4 separate regions of the Homo sapiens genome follow, and regions 1, 2 and 4 are each linked to region 3. Evidence: promoter capture Hi-C in 16 types of primary human blood cells and fetal thymus (Javierre and others, 2016). All regions are on one chromosome and are shown on one strand. Each heading gives the region's core, a stretch centred on a gene start or on the middle of the fragment in contact. The rest is flanking DNA. Distances are from core to core; before and after follow the strand shown. Region 1 overlaps CYRIB (CYFIP related Rac1 interactor B). Region 2 overlaps CYRIB (CYFIP related Rac1 interactor B). Region 3 holds the start of NSMCE2 (NSE2 SUMO ligase component of SMC5/6 complex). Region 4 holds the start of CYRIB (CYFIP related Rac1 interactor B).

Evidence for each region. Contacts are between HindIII fragments. The CHiCAGO score rates a contact against its expected background, and 5 or more counts as called.
Region 1: a fragment that was not itself captured here is called in contact with the fragment with the promoter of NSMCE2 in region 3 in 1 of 17 cell types (neutrophils); the score reaches 5.6 in neutrophils.
Region 2: a fragment that was not itself captured here is called in contact with the fragment with the promoter of NSMCE2 in region 3 in 1 of 17 cell types (neutrophils); the score reaches 5.1 in neutrophils.
Region 4: a contact is called between the fragment with the promoter of CYRIB here and the fragment with the promoter of NSMCE2 in region 3, in 1 of 17 cell types (total B cells). The highest score is 5.5, in total B cells.

Annotation. Positions count from the first base shown.
Region 1 is chr8:129,949,346-129,955,603 of GRCh38, forward strand. The region is part of intron 2 of CYRIB (CYFIP related Rac1 interactor B); the gene reads right to left. Among named protein-coding and RNA genes, the nearest start is that of MIR5194, 56 kb to the right of the region's middle. The HindIII fragment of the contact is 1,119 bases long and covers 3,562-4,680 here.
Region 2 is chr8:129,975,445-129,981,343 of GRCh38, forward strand. All of the region lies in intron 1 of CYRIB (CYFIP related Rac1 interactor B), which reads right to left. Among named protein-coding and RNA genes, the nearest start is that of MIR5194, 30 kb to the right of the region's middle. The HindIII fragment of the contact is 7,355 bases long and covers 1-5,899 here.
Region 3 is chr8:125,088,196-125,094,806 of GRCh38, forward strand. It overlaps NSMCE2 (NSE2 SUMO ligase component of SMC5/6 complex), which reads left to right and starts at 3,665. Exons shown (of 8, transcript NM_173685.4): 1 at 3,665-3,763. WASHC5 (WASH complex subunit 5) reads right to left here and starts at 3,597. Exons shown (of 29, transcript NM_014846.4): 1 at 3,420-3,597. RefSeq lists a silencer at 3,317-3,486 and an enhancer at 3,537-3,756. The HindIII fragment of the contact is 6,790 bases long and covers 1,521-6,611 here.
Region 4 is chr8:130,012,368-130,018,302 of GRCh38, forward strand. It overlaps CYRIB (CYFIP related Rac1 interactor B), which reads right to left and starts at 4,193. Exons shown (of 14, transcript NM_001353258.2): 1 at 4,003-4,193. RefSeq lists silencers at 3,486-3,755, 3,946-4,135, 4,226-4,295, 4,346-4,405. The HindIII fragment of the contact is 5,812 bases long and covers 1-5,796 here.

The DNA of each region.
Region 1 (6,258 bases), core at 2,871-5,370, 4.9 Mb after region 3:
TTATGAAAGATATTTTATTACTTCCCTGTTTTCAGATGAGAAAATGGAGGGACAAACAGTTCAAGTACTTTGCCATAGGTTACATACCTACGAGGAGGTGAACCAGGATTCTAGACCAAGTCTTAGCTCCCTGCTTTGCATAAATCATTCCACCTGCCTTGCTTCTCCAGCCCGTTTTCCTTTCTGTAAACATTAACTAAATCCCTCAGTGACCAAGCTCCACCTGAAATACTACACTAAGGCTGGGCATGGTGGCTCATGCCTGTAATCCCAGCACTTTGGGAGGCCGAGGTGGGCAGATCATTTGAGGTCGGGAGTTCGAGACCAGCCTGACCAACACATAGAGAAACCCTGTCTCTACTAAAAAAAAAAAAATACAAAAATTAGCAGGGCGTGGTGGTGCATGCCTGTAATCCCAGCTACTCGGGAGGCTGAGGCATGAGAATCACTTGAACCCAGGGGGCAGAGGTTGATTGCGCCATTGCACTCCAGCCTGGGCAAAAAGAGCGAAACTCCATCTTAAAAAAAAATAATAATAATAATACACTACTCATCTATAAAACAGCCACAATTATCACCTACTTCACTGTGTTATTGTGAGCACTGACTACAATAATAGGTAGAACTTAGGAAATTGCCAATTCCAACTGTCTTTGGCTATAAAAAGCAACAATTACATAGGAAACATAATCAGTAAAAGTTTGGGTAAAACTTAAATGTTTGGTAAACTCTTAAATAAATGTATGTACCTGATTATCTTGGCTTTTGACATTTGCTTTTTTTTCTTTTAATTTGAGAGTTTGGGGCATTTTTGTTGACAATTGCTGTTTTAATATTCAAACTCGCAAAGTTGTGTATGATAGAAGCTGACAGTCAGACCCCGGGCTTGGTCAGCCTTAAGTTTTAATCCCTTCATTTTCTCATCTATAAAATAAAGACAGTGTCCGGGCACTGTGGCTCACGCCTGTAATCCCAGCACTTTGGGAGGCCATGGCAGACGGATCACCTGAGGTCAGGAGTTCGAGACCAGCCTGGCCAGCATGGCAAAAGCCCATCTCTACTAAAAATACAAAAATTAGCCAGACGTGGTGACGTGCACCTGTAATCTCAGCTACTTGCGAGGCTGAGACAGGAGAATCACTTGAACCCAGGAGGTGGAGGTTGCAGTGAGAAGAGATCACGCCACTGCACTCCAGCCTGGGTGACAAAGCAAGACCATCTCAAAGAAAAAAAAAAAAATGAAGAAACTAATGGTACTCATTGTCAGATGTAAATTATTTCATGTAGAGTACTTAGCACAGGGCACAGAAAATTTAAGAGCTCAGTAAATATTAACATTTTCTATTACTTATTATTATTGTTTTTATTAACAGACTTGCTTTCATTAAGATGCTGTTGGTATAAAGCTGCCCACTGCAGCATTATTTATAATAAAAGCCAGACACAAATTAAATTTCCCACTATAGGGAAAGGGCATAGTAGGATTCTGAAAGAACCATCTTTAGAATTAATGAAAATCACTTTAATTACAATGTAAGCCCCTGCTTTGCTACTTGGGGGCAGTACGATTTTGAGCAAGTCATTTATTTTCTCTGGACCTGTTTCCTCACCTCAGAAATGAAGGGTTTGCTCTCAATGACTCCCATGTCTTCTCATGATTTAAAGTTACATAGTCCTGGCCAGACAGGGTGGCTCACGCCTATAATCCCAGCACTTTAGGAGGCCAAGGCAGGCAGATCACTCAAGTCAGGAACTTGAGACCAGCCTGGCCAACATGGCGAGACCCCATCTCTACTAAAAATACAAAAATTAGCCAGGTGTGGTGGCGGGAGCCTGTAGTCCCAGTTACTCGGGAGGCTGGGGCGGGAGAATCACTTGAGCCTGGGAGACAGAAGTTGCAGTGAGCCGAGACTGTGCCATTGCGCTCCAGTCTGGGTGACAGAGCGAGACTCCATCTCAAAAGAAAAACAAAGCAAAAAAATAATAATAAAGTTATATAGTCCTAAGGTTCTCAATACATTAAAATCCATCAACCTCAAGGACAACATACAACTGAGGACATAAGAAAATGGTAGAAACGGCCAGTTGCGGTGGCTCATGCCTATAATCCTAACACTTTGGGAGGCCGAGGCGGGCAGATCATGAGGTCAGGAGTTCGAGACCAGCCTGGACAGCATGGTGAAACCCCGTTTCTACTAAAAATACAAAAAATTAGCTGGCCGTGGTGGCACGTGCCTGTAATCCCAGCTACTTAGGAGGCTGAGGCAGGAGAATTGCTTGAACACGGGAGGCAGAGGTTGCAGTGAGCCAAGATTGTGCCACTGCACTCCAGCCTGGGTAACAGAGCGAGACTCCATCTCAAAAAAAAAAAAGAAAGAAAATGGTAGAAACACAAGAAACTATTTTATAAATTAATATTCCCAATCTTCTTTCACCCTACTCTTTGTTTCCATAACATTTGTCACCTCCTAACATCGTTTGTATTATGTTTATTGTCTTTCTCCATGAACTAGACCTAAGCCCATGACAGTAGGCATTTATGGCTGGTCTGTCCACGAATGTGTCCCCAGCCCCTAGAACAATGTCTGGCATATAGTAGGAGCTCAGTTAGCATTCATTGAATTTAAAAATGTGAATATTAAGTTAAAAGAACAAAGTACAAAACTACATATATCATAAAATGCAAAAATTACCTTTTGTTTTTGTTTATTTTTTTTGAGACAGAGCTTCGCTCTTGTTGCCCAGGCTGAAGTGCAATGGTGCAATCTCGGCTTACCGCAACCTCCACCTCCCAGGTTCAAGCGATTCTCCTGCCTCAGCCTCCCTGGTAGCTGGAATTACAGGCATGTGCCACCATGCCCAGCTAATTTTGTATTTTTAGTAGAGATGGGGTTTAGTAGAGATGGGGTTTCTCCATGTTGGTCAGGCTGGTCTCGAACTCCCGACCTCAGGTGATCTGCCCACCTCAGCCTCCCAAAGTGCTGGGATTACAGGCATGAGCCACCACACCCGGCCAAAAATTACATTTATAATTATGTATATTACATGTATATGTATGTATACAATAAATACGTAATAAAGTTATATATAATAGAATGCAAAATTGTATATACAATTAATATAAAATATGTACCCCTATGGAGAAATGGTAGAGAGGATCAGAGAAGGTAAAACTCAATGATAACAAGATGAATGTGGAAGTGAAATAATATTCTTTTTCATTTTTCTTTAACGTTTTGAACCATTTTGTTTGTCCAAAAAGATGGCATTTTAAAAAGGAAGAGTGTGAACAGGAGAAATATGGAAGAGAAGAGGAAGCAGAAGTGGCCAAGGGAGAGAACCTGATGGAGAAAATAAGGAAAGATAGGAGGGGCCAAAGCAAACAGAAGGCTCATGGCTGGTAGTTACTCTATTAATGGAAATAGAATCACACAGGCAGAAAGAAAAGTGAGTAGATAAAGGAAAGACAATTTACCTTGAACTTTTAATTCCAAGCTAATATCTATTAAACTACTCCTAGGTTGATAGAATTTCCCCCCATTAACTGCCTCAATCCACAGAAGCTTTGGTAAATTTTAGCACAAAGGAACACTTGGAACTGTTACGTGTTACTGTTCTTCATTCCGAACCTTCTGTTGATCAGCTGCTTTGGAGGCAAGAAGAAAGAGGCCCACATTCTAAGACTAACTGAATGCCACAGGCATTTTCATTAGCCAACTGATCCATCAAGCATTTCATCTAGGGTCACCTACTTGGGGGACATAGAGTGTAGGAAACAGACTTGTCTTCTAGGGGATGAAAGGCACACTACTTACTCCAATACAAAGCAACGCACAACTGCCAAATAAATGACACGGATGATATATCCTGTAAAATTAAAGGGCTAGAAGAGTTCCTTCCAGCTTGGGAAGGTCAGGGGAGGGTGGCAGGGAGATGTCCAGGGAAGGACTTGTCCTGCACTTTATCCAATAACAGGGACCCTAGTGCTGTTCGTGAGCGGACTCTTGACCCCTTCACCTGGTCCCAACTTGTACTTGAGATCACTTGCTGCTCTTAATGCCTAGAGCCCCCAGGTATTGGCCTGGGTTCCTCATCACAGCCATGCATTTGCCATTTTGAGCAAACCAGGTCAGATCCCCTGTGCACGTGCTCTCAACCTCTGTGCTTCTTGTTTACAGCACACACCATCACTGCAATTGTATGGTTATTGTGTGGTTCCTTAAACACTGTGAGCTCCAGGACGGTAGCGGCCACACTATTTTGTCACCACTGTATCCCCAGTGAGAGCACGGAGCCTGGCACAAGGCGGGCACTCAACAAACAGCTGCAGCTGGTCAAGGAGATGGCATTGGTCCAGCCTGAATCAGCACAGGCCTAGGTTTTAACGCTACTGTGAATCCCCAGCATGGCCACAGAGCTGGAACCAGGGAATCAGATAAGCAAGACAAGGAGGTAAGATTGAACCCTCGCCCAAAATTAGCCTAAATGATCAGGTCACTACTGTGTAACCTAGTATTTGAAATACAGAGATTTAGACAGAATGACAGGAAAAAGTCAAACATAAACTAAAAGTCCGAAAGAGCTTAGGTTCTCACAGTCACTTTTTGAGGCTACAAAAGGAAAGATATTGCATAAACCTTAAAAAAAATGGACCAGTTAAGAAGTGTAACTGGTTTAGCAAGCTTCCCTTCTAAAATCCTGGTGCCGATTTCATGTTAGAACACAGGTTTAATGAGAACGTATCCCTCTCCCCAAGTTGTAATACACAGAAGAGGGCAAAGGGGAGAATGTTACCTTGCCCAAGCTCTGGTCTTATCTCAACCCACAGACTTGGAGAAAATGTCTATAGTCCATTTCAGTATTTACTTAGCTTTTTAATTTTTAATTTTTTTTTTGACACAGACTCTCGCTGTGTCCCCCAGGCTGGAGTGCAATGGTATCATCTTAGCTCACTGCAACTTCCGCTTCCCAGGTTCAAGCGATTCTCCTGCCTCAGCCTCCCGAATAGCTGGGATTACAGGTGCTGGCCACAATGCCCGGCTGATTTTTGTATTTTTAGTAGAGATGGGGTTTCACCATGTTGGCCAGGCTGGTCTCGAACTCCTGATCTCAGGTGATCCACCCACTTCAGTCTCCCAAAGTGCTGGGATTACGTGCTTGAGCCACTGCGCCTGGCCTAGTTTTTTAATTTAATAGGCTGCTTGTACTTATAAGTGCCTGCATCAGAGTTTCTGGATGAAATGAACTAATTTTAGAAATGGGAAAAACTTTGGAATTCACCTTCAATCTAATATTTTTGCTTATGAAAATGCAGGGCCCAAGTGGTTAAGGAACTTGTCTAGGGGCACGATCCCCCAGTCATGAACTCTGGACCCAGGGGGAAGATTAGAGGGATTTATGTCTATACTGTCTTTATTTCCAAAGGTTAGTCTACATCACTGAGGCATCAGTAAAGTCCTGTGAAATATCTATACTAATAAGCAGTGTGCAACATTTGGTATGGTATCTGGTGTGATCTTTCAGGGTAAAAGTAGGTAAATTAATTGCTGTCCTTATTTGGCCCTTACTACACACAACACACAAATCTCTTCCACCATTGCAAAATGTTAGAAGATGTATGTGCTGTGGCCGGACGCGGTGGCTGACACCTGTAATCCCAGCACTCTGAGAAGCTGAGGCAGGCGGATCACTTGAGTTTAGGAGTTTGAAACTAGCCTGGCCAACATGGTGAAGTCCCGTCTCTACTAAAAACACAAAATTAGCTGGGCGTGATGGTGCACACTTGTAGTCCCAGCTACTTGGGAGGCTGAGGCAGGAGAATCACTTGAACCCAGGAGGCGGAGGTTGCAGTGAGCCAAGATCGTGCCACTGCACTCCAGCCTGGGTGACAGAACAAAACTCCGTCTCAAAAAAAAAAAAAAAAAAAAGTATGTGCTGCATGATGAAGAAATAAGTGGAAATGCAGGCTTTCTGAGATTTTCCAGTCACCCATAATAGCAAGGAATGGTATCTTTCTCGGTCACAACACTAAGCTGCTTACAGAGTTCATGTAAATACTGTTTCTTGCTGTTCCACCTCTGCTAGGAACACCTTCCACAACACTCCCACGTTTCCGCACCAAACTCCTACCTACACATCGAGGCTCCCATCAGAAATCTCTACAGACGTCGGAAATCTATAGAGATATTAGATAAGCATTTCAAGGTAACTTATTTCCTCATTTTACCTTATGGTAACAGCCCTATTTACCTCTTACAA
Region 2 (5,899 bases), core at 1,384-3,883, 4.9 Mb after region 3:
TTAAAACACATTACCTTTAGTATAAAAGATTGTTAAATAGTTTCCTTTTTTCTTAAAAAATAAAAAAGACAAAAACTTTTATTATGCAAGTCACTGGCACCATGTTTCTGATAAACGCCACGGAGCAAAACCCAGGCTACAAGTTAAGAGCACCTGGAAATTCTGGGTTTGAGACTTTTAAAGCAACATTTTCTAGCCTGCTTCATTCCATAATTATTCTGACACTTTCCACATCCCACTTAATAGGAAACAGACGAAGGAAAACAGGTGTTTTGCTTATTCTACTTGGCATAGCATGCTCTACTGCAGAAGTTTGCAGCAGTTGCTTATTGCTGTATTTTTCCTGCAAGTGAAATGACATCTCTGGTTTGTCCAGAGTTTAAAAATACTGCAGCCGGGTCCCCACTCTGCATAATTAAACAGACTCTCTGGGGAAGCACCCCAGCACCATATTGCTCCAAAGCTCCCCAGGTGATTTTCATGTGCAGCTGGGACTGACAAGCACCAGGCTAAGATAACTCATTAGTCAAAGGAAGCCCATGGGAAATCTTATCTGGAAATGAAGAACTCTTGTAATTAAATAAAATAGCAGATGTAAAAGTCCCTAACAGTGCCTGTTACCCAGAAGACAATAAATGTTAATTAAACAAAAAAAAAATTTAAATAATTACTCCTTCCCCTCAGTGGATTCATCTTGTTATTTTATTGGCTTGTTTATCACTTGTTTTTTTTTCTTTACCATGATTCATTCTATCCCTGTTAATAAAATTATAAACTTATGCCTATAATCCTGTTCAATTACAAGAGCTCTGTAATATTTCTAACAACGCTTTATTGCTTTATTTAATAAAACTTTCCCCCAGTACAGTGGCTTATAGCAAATATGCAATAAACATCTGCTATTTATAATAATAATGGATATTCAGAATTACTTTAATTCAGAATTCATGACCGTTTTTCTAAACTAGACTGAAATTTATTTCACATTATTAGGACCAGTTAGCAACAATGTAAAAAATTATTACGGCAATGTTTAACAAACTTAAGAAAACAGACCTTTAAGCAAACCAATTCTTTTTTATAATTTCCTGGGAAAAAACTAAATGCAGTCATTACACAGGTGAACTTATCTCCCATTCAAGGAGGCCTTGCTCAGCTCTTCCCATAGTTACCTGGAGAGGCTAATACTGCAATTAGTTATAAGCGGTTTTTCCTTCCAATTTCTCCCTACGGCTGCCTCTCTGAGCGTGAATTTGGAAGGTGATTCTTAATGTTTACATTACCCCTCAGTTCTGAGAAGCCAAACATTTGTTTGAAAAAAAGAAATAGAATTTCTGAATCAGAAGAAAGAGTTTTTGTGTGTGTGTTTATGTGTTGTTGTTTTTTTTTGTTTTTTGGGGTTTTTTTTTAATTGAGACAAAGAGTCTGGCTCTGTTGCCCAGGCTGGAGTGCAATGGCGCAATCTCTGCTTACTGTAACCTCCGCCTCCTGGGTTCAAGTGATCCTCCTGCCTCAGCCTCCCAAGTAGCTGGGATTACAGGCATGTGCCACCACGCCCAACTAATTTTTCTATTTTTAGTGGAGACGGGGTTTCACCATGTTGGCCAGGCTGGTCTGGAACACCTGACCTCAAGTGATCCACCCACCTCGGCCTCCCAAAGTGCTAGGATTACAGGCGTGAGCCACCGTGCCCAGCCAGAACAAAGAGGTTTCATGAAGGCCATTTCCAAATGTCTTGCCTTGCTGGCACAAACTTCCCCAGTCATCTTTTCTTGTGTTGTGCCAGACAGAGAAGGCATCTAACAGGTATGTGGGAAGCTGGGCCATGTTCAGCTCAAGATTCACACTCGTTCACAGTAGACCTCTGTATGGCTCACACATGAACTCTGCTATGCTTCAGTTCCTAAGGCCATCCAGCTCCCAAAGTCTGCCATGTCATGTTTTAAATAAACTGGACTCGACACCCAGCCAAAAATAATAATGATGTGCACGTCTCTGTATGTAAATGTCAATAATAAGGTACAAAATGATCACACATGGGCCAATTCCCATCCTATACTATTTGGTATTATCACCTAATATTTGTCCTCACTCTTTTTTTTTTTGAGACGGGGTCTCGCTCTGTCACCCAGGCTGGAGTGCAGTGGAGCGATCTCGGCTCACTGCAAACTCCACCTCCCAGGTTCACGCCATTCTCCTGCCTCAGCCTCCCAAGTAGCCGGGACTACAGGCGCCCGCCACCACGCCCGGCTAATTTTTTTGTATTTTTAGTAGAGATGGGGTTTCACCGTGTTAGCCAGGATGGTCTCGATCTCCTGACCTCGTGATCTGCCCGCCTTGGCCTCCCAAAGTGCTGGGATTACAGGCGTGAGCCACTGCTCCCGTCCTGTCCTCACTCTTTCAATGAGATCATAAGCACCTTGAGGGTGGACATCTTGTATTAGCAGTAGTAGAAGTATTAATTTTATTGATTTATTTATTTTTAATAGAATCTTGCTCTGTCACCTAGGCTGGAGTGCAGTGGCACCACCATATCTCACTGTGGCCTCGAACTCCGGGGCTCAACAGATCCTCCTGCCTTAAGCTCCCGAGTAGCTGGGGTACTACTCAGTTGTACAGGCGTGTGCCACCATGCCTAATTTTTTTTTTATTTCATGTAGAGACGAGGTCTTGCTATGTGCCCAGGTCAATCTTGCACTCCTGGCCTTAACAATCCTCCCATCTAGGCTTCCCAAAGCCACAGTGGGCCACCGTGCCCAGTCTAATTGTAGTTTCGATCCTCTTAATTGAATTGTCTATAGTGTGTTATATAGCTAATCAGATTACCTGAATAATAAAACTTCTCTTTCTTATGTTTTCATTTAATATTCGATCAGCCAAGCACTAAATGACTATTGTGAGATGGTTGTGGGGCAGGCTTCACACAAGTGATTCCAATTTGTCTTGGTTGATTTGAACTTGTAGGAAAAACTGCAATGTCTGAAACCTCCACCGTAACAGATTTAGAGAGAATCCCTGGAGACTCAAGCCTCGCGCTGTGGGCACCATCTCCCCAGGCATGTGCCAGGATGATACAGAACAAAAGATGCACCTCAAAAATGAATACATTTGGAGGAATCCTCCCCTGTGCTAGAGTTTTCTAAAGTATCCCTCAATCCATTCAGAACATGTCCTTTTATATTAGCCAGGTTCTCTACCACTCCATCAATGTGTGTTATTATTATTATTTCCCAAGTATGCAGTTCAGAAAAGATGCTAATACACTGGGGTTGGGGGGTGTCCTTTGAAACACATTCCCAGGTGTTTAATTTCCTATTCATAACTAGTGCTAACCAGCTAAGTGCGTGTACACACACACACACGTGCATGCACACGAACACACACACCTTTTTAAAAATATATCAATGTTGGCCGGGTGCGGTGGCTCACGTCTGTAATCCCAGCACTTTGGGAGGCCAAGGCGGGCAGATCACTTGAGGCCAGGAATTCGGGACCAGCCTGGCCAACATAGTGAAACCTCCATCTCGTACTAAAAATACCAAAAAAATTAGCTGGGCGTAGTGGTGTGTGCCTGTAATCCCAGCTACTCAGGAGGCTGAGGCAACAGAATCACTTGAACCTGGGAGGCAGAGGCTGAAGTGAGCGGAGATCGTGACACTGCACTCCAGCCTAGGTGACAGAGCAAGACTCTGTCTCAAAATAAATAAATAAATTAATTAATTAATTAAATAAATAATATATCAATGTTTTACAACCCTAATACCAGGAAAACACAAAGTACTTCTGGTTTTCAGTGCATGTTTACCACCAAGATGCAAATCCCATACACATTTTGGGGTGCCTTGGAAATAACATAACTGATTCTTGGGTCCACTACAAGTTTACAAACATTCTCTGGCTTGGATTTTCTGTCAATAGTAGCATAACATTTTTCTATGCTAACATATGAAGGAATAAAGCCTATTAGAGGTTCTTTTATTCACAAACTGTCTTCTCCGAGACTATAACCTTTTAGGTTGAACCACTATTAGCTGGAAACTTCCTCTGGAAGGATAAGTGAGAACAGCGCCCACAGTGCACCTTTTGCCCAGAACTCGGGCCCAAGATCTGGGGAGATATTGCTATAATACTGGGTCGTTCTCTTTCAAAGATGATAAACAGCAGGAGGGTCTATTAATTATCATTTCCCAGCTGGCCATGGTGGCTCAAGCCTGTAATCCCAGCACTTCGGGAGGCCATGGCAAGCAGATCACCTGAAGTCAGGAGTTTGAAACCAGCCTGGCCAACATGGTGAAACCCAGTCTCTACTAATAATACAAAAAAAAAATTGGCCTGGCATGGTGGCAGGCACCTATAATCCCAGCTATTTGGGAGGCTGAGGCAGAAGAATTGCTTGAAGCCAGGAGGCGGAGGGTGCAATGAGCCGAGATCACGCCATTGCACTCCAACCTGGATGACAAGAGCAAGACTCCACCTCAAAAAATAAAATAAAATAAAATAATTATCATTTCCCTTTAAACTCATAAACCCTTAAACATGAACCATCTTCCAGAACCAATTCTGATGCATGATAAAAATAAAAACACAGTTTCTACATTTTGCCTACCACACTCCTGGCATAGGCTGATCACAGCTTAAGACACACATCTTCATTTTTCCACAGTATCATGATCTATTGCTTACATAGTTAAAATTGTTTTTAATGGGCCAGAGAAGGAGGTTGCAGTGAGCCAAGATTGCACCACTGCACTCCAGCCCGGGCAACAGAGCAAGACTCCATCTCAAAAAAAAAAAAAAAAAAAGAAAAGAAAAAAGAAAAAAAGCTGTAGTACTTGCAGCTCTATGTCCAAGTGACAAATCTGCCTTCCAGAAATCTGATTTTTGCGGTGGGGGAGGACAACTACATAGCGTGGTGCTTAACATGTTGATAAATGTTCAAAAGAAGTTTTTTGATGCTTTAGGCCAATCATCTGTTTAAACCAATAACATTAATTATTACTGTGTATTTTAATACGCAGTCTTGTTTTTCAAGAAGTCCAGTTCAGCACACCATTGATTTAATAAACAATATGCGCTGGGCGTGGTGGCTCACGCCTGTAATCCCAGGTACTCGGGAGGCTGAGGCAGGAGAATCACTTGAACCTGGGAGGCGGAGGTTGCAGTGAGCCAAGATTGTGCCACTGCACTCCAGCCTGGGCCACGGAGTGAGACTCTGTCTCAAGAAAAAGAAAAAGAAAAAAAAAACCATACTATGAGGTCAGGCACAGTGGCTCACGCCTGTAACCCCAGCACTTTGGGAGGCCAAGGCAAAAGAATCGGTTGAGCTCAGGAGGTCAAGACGAGGCTGGGCAACATAGTGAAATCCCATCTCCACCAAAAATACAAAAAAATTAGCTGGTCGTGGTGGTGCACACCTGTGGTTCCAGCTACTCGGGAGGCTGAGGTGGGAGGATCGCTTCAGCCTGAGGGGTGGAGGCTGCAGTGAGCAGAGGTGGCATCACTGCACTCCAGCCTGTGTAACAGAGTGAGACACTATCTCAAAAAAAAAAACACACACACTCACAAGACAAACAACAAAACAACATAATATGAAGATGGGAAGAAGACAGAGGAGGAAGGAAACGAACTATGGTGTACTGAAAAGCCAGATCCCAATACCATCTCAGTTAAACTGAGAGACAGAGTTAGCCCCCCATTCCCCACCTTTTTTTTCAAGACAAGGTCTGGCTCTGTCGCTCAGGCTGGAGTGCAGTGGTGCAATCTCGGCTCACTGCAACCTCCACCTCCTGGGCTCAGGCCATCCTCCCACCTCAGCCTTCAGAATGGCTGGAACTACAGGCACATGCCACCACGCCTTGCTAATTTTTGTTTGTTGGTTGGTTGGTTGGTAAAGATGGGG
Region 3 (6,611 bases), core at 2,415-4,914:
CACTTTGAGAGGCTGAGGCACATGGATCACCTGAGGTTAGGAGAGCCGGGATCACCCCGGCTCTACTAAAAATACAAAAATTAGCCAGGCATGGTGGCAAAAACCTGTAATCCCAGCTACTCGGGAGGCTGAGGCAGGAGAATTGCTTAAACCCAGGAGGCGGAGGTTGCAGTGAACCGAGATTGCACCACTGCACTCCAGCCTGGGTGACAGAGTGAGACTTCATCTCAAAAAAAAAAAAGGGGGAGGGGGGGAAGGAAATAGGATAGAAACAAAAGATACAGTGCACTTCTGAGATTAGATTTCGAAAAGACTAACTTCTGGCTTGGGCACCCTCTGTAGCTTGCTAGTCCAGGGGAAGCAACATATCATGGTGTGAGAGAGCCCTGGGGAGAAGCCCATATGACAAGGAACTGAGGCTTGCCAAAAACCACCTGAGTGAACTTGAAAGTAGATCCCTTATAATCCCAGTCCAGCCTTCAGATAAGACCATAGCTCCTTGTTCCCAGCCTGACTGCAATGTTCTAAAAGCCCCAGAGCCAAAGGCAGCCAGCTATGCCCTACCCTCCGGACCATAGATGCTATAAAGCTTATTGTCTTAAGCCACTGGGTTCTGGCATAGTTTATTATGCAGCAATAGATAATGATCCTAATAATGGCATCCCAAGCAGAGGTTACAAGTAAGTGCAAAGGCCCCAGGGCAGGAATGTGCTAGATGGCTAGCAAGGTGGCTAAAGTGGCTGGAGCAGAGTCAGCTAGGGGCGGAAACAGAAGAAGTAGACTGGATTGGATCTGAGAGCCAAGAAGCCACTACAGCTGTCTAGAACTCCCATGAAGGTACCCTGTAATACACATTAAGGCATACATTATTAACAAGTTCTTTTAGTTTCCTCTGTGATACTTGCTTGTTAAACCACACTGATCTCTAACAGGCTGAATTTCAGATAATTTCATTTCATTTTCTGCATGGATATGGTCTGGCTTGGGAAAGCAGAGAGGGAAAGGGGAAATAATGGACAGTGGGCAAAACAGTCACATACTAAAGCCCTCTGAAGACCACCAAACTAACCCAGAAGGTCTAAGTAGGATGAAACTTTACACCAGGAGTGTCCAATCTTTTGGCTTCCCTGGGCAATATTGGAAGAAGAATTGTCTTGAGCCACACATAAAATACACTAACACCAAAAATAGCTGATGACCTTAAAAAAAATCGCAAAAAAATCTCATAATGTTTTAAGCAAGTTTACAAATTTGTATTGGGGCACATTCAAAGCCATTCTGGGCCGCATGTGGCCTGCAGGCCTCAGGCTACACAAGCTTGCTCTAGACTCATGAAGAGGAGGACAAGCTATGATTAACAGGTCCAATGGCTACCCGATTTGGGATACCATGACAGGGCAACAATGTGGCCCTGGGAAAAACAACTTAAAGCAAAGTAACATTACTTGCCCTTTACTCTACTCTCTCCCAACATACAGAAGGACAGACAGACTCAGCACCTGCATGCACACATTCGGGGAAGCTTCAGTCTGGGATAACGACAGAGATCAAGACTTTCGTGTGTCAATCTCTTGTTTTAATCCTTAGTCCCTTACTCAAGAATTACGCTGTAGACAACTTTAAAAGAACATGAGGAGGATAATAATAACCAAATATGTTCGGCAATAGTAAAACAAATATTATGGGTCTTTATTACCTAGGTAAATCACCTTTCTAAAATTCTATATATAAACTTTATATTAAATTTTTAATGCAAAAGCATATGAGTTATATTTAATATACTTTTACTGAAATGAACTCACTGCTTGTAATCTGTTTTGCCCCATGAAGGGCACTTGTGTTTTCTATTTCTAATAATGCAAGCATCTCCTGCTAAGTTTTTGAAGATGGAAGAAGTTAAAACAAGATTAGCTGAAAGAAGGAAATCACTTAGTTACATTTTATGTACTAGACCTCCTAACCCGGACTAGTTATATTTTCCATGTAACAAATGGAATTTCCATAATTTGTACAAATATAATTTGGCTAGAGTATTTGGTAAATAGCCCCCTCGTTGGCTGAAGGACTAGTCCTGAAGAACAGAATCTAAGAACCATCATTAAAAATGCCTAATCAAGTTGCAGCTAAGAGGTAGGTGGATGGCTTTACAAAGTGTTAAGACTCAGCTAAGTCTTAAAAAACCACTTTAGAATTAGGTCCAAATAAACACTGTAGAAGAAGCTATGTTAAATTATCCTTTCAGAGGTTCTCTTGGTGCTAGGGATCAAGAACACTTGAAGATCAGTTTTCTCAATACAGGCTATATTATTATTGGCATGAAATCCAGAGATCCCACTATATTTTCTTATTTTCTTTTACAAGTGCCGGTAACTTCATTTTTAATAATTTGGCGTGGAACTGTGATTTTCAGTTTGGGAAGTAATCCTAATCAAAAGACATGCTTTCAAGAATAAGGCATGACATCCTTACACCAATTACCCTGAGTACAGAATAATATTTCTTAAGGAAATCGAATTGTCGTGGACAAACAGTTTACCCTCTTCAGAGGACAAAAGAAGGCAGGTCTATTTTTAGCCTTTCGCAAAACCTCAGTTCCATAAAGGAAGCACTGGTCTCCACAAATCCATTATCACAAACAAAATATAACGGTTGCTGATCAAGATAAATGCAAGCTGCATATATTTTCCAGAAAAGTTCTGAAATGAGGCTGAACCTGAAATCCTGGGAAAGGCAGGTGAAGGACAATTAGAGAAGGTGTCCCTTGTAGTGCACAAAGACAGTAAAACTTCGCCCTCACTACGCCTCACCTATGTTTGAGGGAGCTCCATGCGCTTGCAATCAGGAGACCCAGTTTTATGGCTCTGTGACTTTTTTTCTTTCTCCTGTCCGATCATAATCCTGATTCCGATCCCAGGAATCAGGGCCCTGGGAACTTTTTTTTTTTCCCCCAAATGCAAAGGATTTTGACATCAGTATGTCACAGGTGAAGGCATTAAGGCGCGGCGAGCAGCAATGACTTGCCCAAACTCACAGCCCATGGCATAACTAGAATGCAAATCCACGTCTGTCAGCCTGTAAAAGTCCTCACTACTAGCCTTTCAGTTTTCTCAAAAGCAAAGAGAAATAACGACGACATCCATACAGCAGTGTTCCCGGAAACTTGGAAGGATGAGATTCGGACCAAGCAGCTGAACGGTGCTTCCTAAAGCGAGGAAGGGGTGTGCAAAATGATTTCCCCCTAAGCGGAGACGAAGAGCTGGATTACAGCCCCCGCCCCAGAAAGCCCCTAAGCCCTCCATCCCGAGTCCCCCATCCAGGCTGCACGCGACTCTGCAGACCTCCCCGTGGCCAGCGCGGCCCAGCGGGGAGGGGAAGGGGGCCATGCAAAAATGGGGCGCGCTCACTCCATCCCCACTCACCTGTCAGCCGGGCCGCGCCACGGCGCACGCGCAGGGCCGGAGGTCGCGCGCGGAGCCGGCACCCAGTTTCCACCCCTCCCTCAAGGCGGCGGTCCTCTTCTATCCGCAGTCCCGGACCTGGAGCGGGTCAGACCCCGACTTCCGCCCCTGACTCCCCAGGCGGTCACATGACCGAAGCGGCTGGGAGCAGGGAGGGGCATCATGTGACCACTCGCCGGCGACGGCTGATGACGCAAGAGCCCGCTCTCACTTTTCAGCGGCAGGCGAAGGGGGCTGAGGAAAGGAGGTGGGTCTAGGCAGGGGAAATTGGGGTGCCACCAGACGGAGACAGCTTGGACTACCAGGTAGGGAAGAAGCGGGGGACGGCAATGGGGAGGGTGGCAGGAGTTTCGCCACCCTCAGGGACACTCCACGGGGACTCCGAGCCGGGGGTCCGTCTACCCGGATTATGGTTGTGGAACTTTTCACGCCACGGTAGTGAGTCTGGGACAGTTTACCCTCCTGTCCGAGACGCCATCTCTCCATCCTTTCGCCTCAAGTGTGTAGGGGCAAGATTACGAATTTTTGATCCAAATAGATTTTGTTTGAACTGACTTTAAAAGTAAGGCCACGGGAAGGTCGTTTGAATAAACTCTCTGGACCTCAATTTCCTCTTCAGTTATGTAGATTGCAGTGAGAATTAGCGATAAGGAGAATAAAGTGCCGGGACACCAGTTTATGGCATTCTGTAGGTGACCGAGAAATGATGATGTCTGTTGTTATTTTTGTAACTGGCCAAATCTTTATTGGTCCCCTATTTTGTGTGAGGAATTGCTTTATATGCAATAGAATATGTCAGGGTTCTAGTTTAAGGAGGTGTCAGTTTAAAGAAGCTGCAGACATGTGAGCAAATAGTTGTGATGAGTTTCATAATAGGAGTGTGTTGTGTACATGTGCATGTGATAGGGATAATGGTAGCATGAGGGAGGGAAAAGCAATTGTATGAGAAGGATTCAGAGAGAAGGGATTATCCTTGCATGTTGAAAAAGGAGAGGCAGCTCTGGCTGACTTGTACAAGGCTCCCATGGATTTAAAGGAAGTCAACATATTGTCTATAAATAACATGCAGAGAAAAAACTCAGGAAATGCACAACTTGTTCTAAACTTTCTTGGAGATCATAGGTACCGGGAAGAAAAAGATCAGTGTTATTACCTGGGGAGGGATCCAAGAGAGATTGATTTAAACCAGTTATTCTCAACTGATGCACTATTGACATTTTAGGCCAGATAATTTTTTGCTGTGGGGTCAGGGTGAGGGCTGTCCTGTGTTTTGTAGGATGCTTAAGAGCATCCCTGGCCTCTGCCCGCTAGATGCCAACCACAAAGTCTACAGATACTGCTAAATGTCCCCTTGCGAGAGGGGTAAAATCCTTCTTGGTTGAGAACCACTTAAACCAAGCCATGAAAGATGGTATCTTAGTCAATGTGGGCTTCTGTAACGGAAATGCCATAAACTAGGTAGCTTATGAACAACAGAAATTTATTTCTCACAGTTCCGGGGCCTGTTTCCTGGTTCATAGGTGGCTTCTTGCTGTGTCCTCACATGGTGGAATGGCAAAGCAGCTATCTGGAGCATCTTTTAAAAGGGCACTAATCTTATTCATGAAAGTGGGCCTCATCACCTCCCAAGAGGCCCCACCTCCTAATACCATCACCTTGGAAGTTAGGATTTCAACATATACATTTTGGGTGACACAAACATTCAGACTTTAGCATATGGGTAAGATGTGGGCAGATAGAAAACTGAAGAGAGGCCCTGGCACAGTGGCTTATGCCTGTAATCCCAGCACTTTGGGAGGCCAAGGCGGGCGGATCACTTGAGGTCGGGTGTTTGAGACCAGCCTGGTCAACATAGCGAAACCCTCTCTCTACTAAAAATACAATAAATAAATAAATAAATAAATAAGTAAATAAATAACATAATTGGTGTGTCCTGGCACACACCTGTAATCCCAGCTACTCGGGAGGCTGAGGCAGGAGAATCCCTTGAACCCAGGAAGCAGAGGTTGAGGTGAGCCGAGATCATGCCACTGCACTCCAGTTTGGGCGACAGAGCGAAACTCTGTCTCAAAAAATAAATAAATAAATAGAAAGAAAACTGAAGAGAAGGTTTTCTCATGGTGGGAGCAGGATGAGGAAAAGTCCTCTTTTTCCTTTTTGGTGACAGCGTCTCACTCTTATCGTCCAGGCTAGAATGCAGTAGCATGATCATAGCTCACTGCAGCCTTGGACTCCTGGACCCAAGGAGTCCTCCCACCTCAGCCTTCCGAGGGTCTAGGACAATAGGTGCAAGCCACTATGTCTGTGTAAGTTTAAATTTTTTTTTTTTTTGTAGAGTTGGGGTCTTGCTGTGTTGCCCAGGCTGGTCTTAAACTCCTGGCCTCAAGCAATCTTCCTGCCTTGCCCTTTCAAAGTGCTGGGATTATAGGCATGAGCCACCACACCCAGCCTGAACAAAGTCTGGAGCTGAGATTAAGAATATTGGGTATGAAGGGGAGAAGGAAACAGGAGAGCTATGAATCTGACTGAAGCAGACAGTTAATTTATTCATTTATTGACTATTTTCAGAGCACTTGCTGTTTGTGAAGCACTGCTAACATCTTGCAAGATAGTCACTAACAAAGTGGAGTGACTATAATTATAATTATATCAAAGAAGGTGCTGTTAGAGTCAGAGAAAGGAGTTGTCTTTGACTTGTACTTAGCTGTATTTATTGGGAGAGATTGAGAAAAGTATGTCTGTTCCATCTTTCTGCACCATCCATTGCCTTTGCTTTTCAATTCAATCTCAGTCTTAATCTTTTCCCTACTCCAGAATTACAGAAGAGCATGATCGTGTTTTCCTTGGTCCTCTGCAAAAGTGAAGTTTCACTAAAGTAATGTGAGTTTTGCATTCAAACAAATAGTGACAGCTACTGTTTGGTAGATACTTTCCATTTATACTGGATTGCATTAATCTTCATAGATACTGTGTCTTTGTTCAAGCTACCATAACAAAATACCATAGACTGGGTGGCTTAAACAACAGAAATTTATTTCTTACAGTTCTGGAGGCCAGAAGTTCAAGGTGAGGTTGCCAGCATAGTTGGATTCTGGTGAGGACTTTCTTCTTGGCTTGTAGATGGCTGCCCTTTTTATGTGTCTTCACATGGTA
Region 4 (5,935 bases), core at 2,943-5,442, 4.9 Mb after region 3:
GTTTAATCCAGGAATGACCTGCCAGCCAAGGGCTCTATTCCCAAAGGAAACTGAAGCTCTGTCAGGGGAGGGTAAGACATTGGATGCAGGGACAGATGATGGGACCAGGGGAGGGACAGAAAGAGCACCAGGGGCTGAGGGAAGAAACAGACATTGCTGAGCACCTCTAGGTGCCATGCTCTCTGCTGGGCACTTTCCATACAACCTCTGGGTTGATCGTCACAGCAACACTTCCAGGTGGCGACTGTTAGTCCTCATTTGAAAGATGAAGAGAAAGACAAAGAGAAAGGAAGTATCTTGGCCAAGGGCACAGAGCTAGTGAGTGGCAGAGCCAGGATGTGAACCCAGGCTGTAGGGCCCCAAAACCTTCACTGCCTCTAGAAAGAGAAAAGGAGGAGAGGAAAAAAAAAATATTGCTCTCAACCTCATGCATCCTAGGCTAACAAAGTTGCCTTTCTTTCAGCCTGGTGAGGCCAATCACCCATTTTAAGACTATCAAAGACTTAATTGCCAAAGTTCTACTGAAGCAAAAGGACCTGATCCATCTGAGAGCCCAGAGAAGGATGAAAAACAAGATTACAAGGCGTCCGTCTTCAACAGGCCTTTATCAAGTATCCCCTTTAGGGAAGAGAAAAAAAATCAATCCTTCACTCCTCCCACCCGAATTTCCTTCTTTCAAGAAGCTCCAATTCAAGCTAAAACAGAGAGATGAATCTGGCCTTTGAGACGCCTATACGCTTGCTGAGCAAACAGTGATTATTACTGTTGTTGATGATGATAACAATAATCATGGATGGTGATCACTATTATACGGGGTGTGCAATGGGAACAGGGGCCTATGCTAAGGACTTTGCTTATGCTACTGCCAGGAGCAACACATCCCCGTGACACATGCGCCCATTTTACAGATGAGAACACTGAGGCTCCAAGAAGGCAACAAACTTGGTTCCATGCACACGAGCAGTGAGAAAGAAAACCAAGGCATGAATTTGGATCTTACTCTCTTACTCAGGAGCCCTGGGAGACCAACGGGGATTCTTTTGCCTGTTTAGAGATGAGGAAAAGAGGGGGCCGAGAGTGTAGTGACCTCTAGAAGGCTGCACAGCCAAGAGATAGTGAAGGTGTGTCTGATAAAATTCATACTTAAAATCTGAATTTTCAGCTATACAACACTTCCTTTACAATGCTCAGTGGTGGACGATTTTGCTGAAGACAGCCAAGTCCCAGACCGCCAAAGCCACATGAATCGTGGTCTCTTCAATTAACGAGATGGCAGTAATGCTGAGCACGGGTGAGGCCACAACCTCCTGGCACCCGCGTCCCTCGGGCGTCCTTCCTGTTCTTCGTGTGCATGGGTCTCTGGATCCTGATATAAGAGCTGTCAGGGACCAGGATTCCACATAGGGAGGAACCACGGGACAACCATTTCAAGGTCAACTGCAGGCCAGTGCGCTGACCTTGAGATGGAAAAAGAATGTACATCCTCAAAGAGCAAAGGGGAACCCATCATTCTTCTGCCCATTCTGTCAAAAGACACGTACTGTTTCCTGCATGGGCCAGGCAGCAGGTCAGGTGCCAGAGGAAGCACAAAGACCACTCAGCGTCTGCAAGAAGAAAAGTGAGCTCTGCAGGCTGAAGACTTAGGCAAGGACCCTCAATCTGCCCCTTCCTGACTGAAGGTCTTGGGCCAAGTCCTGCACTCTCTCTAAGTCTCAGGAAAACGAGAACCCTAGCTCTCCTTTACAGGTAACCCTGGCCACTCCACAGTTCAGTCATTAAAAATGAATCTGGGCCGGGCACAGTGGCTCACACCTGTAATCCCAGCACTTTGGGAGGCTAAGGCAGCGAGGATCCCTTGAGCCCAGGAGTTCGGGCAACATGGAGAGACCCCATCTCTACAAAACATTAAAAAATTAGTTGGGCATGGTGGTGCACACCCGTGGTCCCAGCTACTTGGGAGGCTGAGGTAGGAGGATGGCTTGAGCCTGAGAGGTCAAGGTTGCAGTAAGACATGATCACGCTACTTCTGCACTACTTCAACCTCAGCAATGCGTGAGACCCTGTCAAAACACAAACAAAATGAATCTGCACATGCTCAAACTGCAGCACGCTGCTGCACAGAAGGGTCTGCACTGTCTCTTAAAAATAATAGTAGCACTTACGGGGGTCGGGAGTTGGGGGACCCACATAGCTAAGGATCCTAAGAGAGGCACACAGAAGACTTTGGGAGCTGAGAAAGGAGAAGGGGTGGCTGTCAGAGACAGCAAAATTACTTGAAAATCTCCCAAAGTGAAGGGCAGAAACATATATTGGCCTTTATCTGAAAACCATTTCCAAGTCTCCCTGTGCTGGAACCCACTTCAGCCTCCTGCATCACACACTCTGCCCTTCTCCGTGCTGTGAGCCCAGCAAGGATCTAGAGTGCAAATTCCAATGTGCCTCCTCAGGAAGAAAACTCAGGCCAGCTGACCACTTCTGCATGCCGACCAAGGTAGAAAAGTCACCTCTTCCGGGCTTCCCCCACATTACAGGAACCCCAGGCCTGGGAAACCATCCCAGACGTCAGCCCTGGCTCAGTCTTGGCTGTTGGCCTCAGCCAGTCACCTGGCGGTGGCAATCAAAATGACGCCTTCTTTTTATTTTTCCCCCAGTGCAATCTTCCAAGAATGGGAGAGTCTCAAAGTCAGAGTTTAAGCCCTTTTTCACAAGGGAGTCAGTATTTTCACAAGATGGTCTTCCTCAGAGAGGGGAGGAGTCCATCCAACCCAGATAGCAAAATTGCTCCCTGGAGATCCTGGATGGATGTTACAGGGCAAGGAAGCCAAAATGTGGAAGCACACCGACTCACCTCTCAAAATTCACCACCCACTCGTTCATCTCACAATTATCTATGGGGTGCTTCCCACGTGCTTCAACGCACCCTTTCTAGGTGCTGGGGATGCAGAAATTCAAGGTGACTGGCAATGACACTTTCTATCACTGCGCCCCCTGCAGGCCAGGAAATCTACGCTCGTTTTCTCAAGGCCCCACTCGCAGCAGCCCATTTCACAGACGGGACCCTAAGACTCAGAGAGGGTAAGCGACTTGCCCAAGGTCACACAGCTAGTAAGCGGCAGGGCCAGGAATTAAACATAGCTGCAAAGTGCATGTGACACTCCCCCGCAGCCCCAGCTCTATCCCTCCGCACCCCTCCACCTCTTGCAGCAGGGTGGGTAGCAAAGGCACACTCCAAGTAGCTCCAGCATGGTAAGACCTCGATTCCTCCTTCGTTCCACTCCTGACACAGGACACACGTTTCAAAGGACACACAGGTTTTTCCCAACCCCAGTGTGTGTGTACACAGCCCCAGGAAAGCCCTGCAGGCTGCAAGGGCACCCACCCGCTAACACTGAACTTCCATTTAAAAAGAAAGATAATGAAAAGATAAAAGGCGAAGAGGAAGTGCTCTTTAAACACAGGCGGGTGGCTACCCCAGGAGGAAGTCTTGAGGCCAGTGGAGATTTTGTTCACCCCCTCTAGTTCCTCAAATCCAATGCGACTGGTCTTCCAAGCCCCTGATGGGAGGTGGCCGGGGGCCAGCGCTGCTCCCGGGGTCAGTCCCCGCACCGACACCCGGCTCGCAGGAAGGGTCTGCCAGGGACCAGCCACCCCGACCCGAGCGCCCCCTGCCTCGAGGCGCACAAGGCGCCGGCTCCGCAGCTGGGTGGACCCGGGCGGCGGCCCCGCTGCGCGCTCCCCTCGCGTCCGCCCGCCGCCCCCCGCGCACTCGAGGCGCCTCCCCCGGGACCCCCGCGCCCGCCGGCCCGGACGCCCCCACCACGGCGGCGCCCCCTGTCCACCCGCCGCAGCGCCCGGCCCGGCGGCCCGGATGGTACCTCCGCCTCTCCCCGCACCCATCACGCGCGCGCCCCGCACCCCGCGCCCTCTCCGGGGGCAAATCGGATCCAGGGGCGCGCGCGCGGGCCGGCCGGGCGGCGGCGCCTTCAGAGCCCCGGCACGTACCTGGCGGCCCGGGCGGGCGAGGGGAGCGCGGCGCGGGAGCGCAGGAGCCTCGGAGCCTCCGGTGCCGCCGCCGCCGCCGTTTCCGGGTTGGCGGGGCTCACGTCACCGCCACAGGTTTGCGAGCTGCCCCCGCCGCGGCGGCAGCAGCAGCAGCAGCAGCAGCCCGGGCGAGTGCCAGGCGAGAAATAACTATAAAAGGAAGAGGCGCGGCGAGGAGGAAGAGGAAGCGCTGTTTACCTTCGAGAAGCCGAGCCGCCGGCGCTCGCACAAAAGGAGGACGCTCGCCTCGCGACGCGCCTCCCCCCGCGCCCAGTCCCCGCCGCATCGCGGGGCCCCGGCGTCAGCGCGCGCCGCGCCCCGGGACCGCCCCGCGCCGGCCCCCACCCCAGAACCCCGCGCCCGCCTGGCCCGTGTCCTCCCGAGCCGGGGCGCCACGGGCCCGGGACGGTGGTGACCTTGGGCAAGTCACCGCGGGGCGCGCTGCGATTGGGGGTCATCGCCCTCATTGTGCGAGGAGGAAACCCGGCTCCGAGAGGCGCAAGAGTGACCCCCAAGGTCACTGCCTGTCAGGCAGGGCTTGGGCTCGAACCCCGGTCTCCAGACCTTCAGGCCGGCCAGGTTCCCATCCCTGGGTCGCTTCCCCCTCACCTGGACTTCAGGAATGGTGACAGCCCCTGCCTGGCTCACCTCGCAGCGGGGTCAGTGAGAGGAATGCTGTCCACGCACCCATTCAGCCCTCCCGCAGATACTTACTGGGCCTACTAAGTGCCCGGGCTGTTCTAGGCCCTGGAGCTGCAGCTGCGAACCAAAACAAAATCCCTGCCCGGGAGGGGCAGCGGGGACAGGCCGTAAATATCTGATGGGTCCTATGGTGCTAAGTGCTGTGCCAGAGGAAAAATAAAGCGGGGTGAGGGGACGGTGCGGGCTGTCGGTGCTACCCTAAGCGGTTCTCCAAGGACTTTAAATTTAGTACAGAAATTCCCACATAAAAAGCTCCTCGCCATAATTCCAGTTTCAGGTATTATGGGAGACCTCATCTTTCCCCTGATCTAGAATGGAAAATACTGTGTTTTTCTCCCTGTAACAGGACATGCCTAGGAAACTGATACTCTCCTTCCCTCTGCCTTGCTCCCCTGGCCCAGAAGCCCATCCTATCATTATCTTGACATTCAACCAGAAATTTCTCGGGAAGATAGACAACATTCTCTCAAGTATCTTTCTGCTGTCCTCTAGCAGGGTATCAAAAGGGTTACATCAAAGGCTTCCATTGTCTTTCCACCTCCACCTCCAGCTATAGGGGGGTTGGAGTGTGCTCACATCATACTCAGTGCTGAGTTACCTGATTAGGAGCCAGTTGTTCCATTTCTTTTCTTTTTTCTTTCTTTTTTTTTTTTTTGTCTAAGACAGGATTTTGCTCTGTTTCCCAGGCTAGGTAGCGCAGTGATGCGATAGCTCACTGCAGCCTCAAATTCCTGGGCTCAAGCGATCCTCCCACCTCAGCCTCCCGAGTTGCTGGGACCACGGGTATGCACCACCATGCTCAGCTAATTTTTATAGATTTTTGTAGAGGTGGGTCTCCCTGTGTTGCCCTGGCTGGCCTGTTTCTCCTGGGCTCAAGGGATCCTCCCTGCCTCCGCCTCCCAAAGTGTGGGGATTACAGGCATAAACCACCACACCCAGCCCGCCAATTCTTTAACAAAGGTGCCTTGCGCCTTCTCTTGGCCAGGCCCAGTTCTCGGAGCTGGGGACCCTGAGATGGTGCCATTTCAGCAGTACTCCCTGGACTGCTCTCTAAGCTTACCCGAGCGCCAGTGCCTTCATTCCTAAAGGAAGGGAACTAATGTCCACCTTGCTGTGGGGGCTGAGAAGTAGGTGGGGAAACACTGGGTCCTGAACTATGACCTTGAGGAGAAGCAGGAAAAGGGTTTGGAAG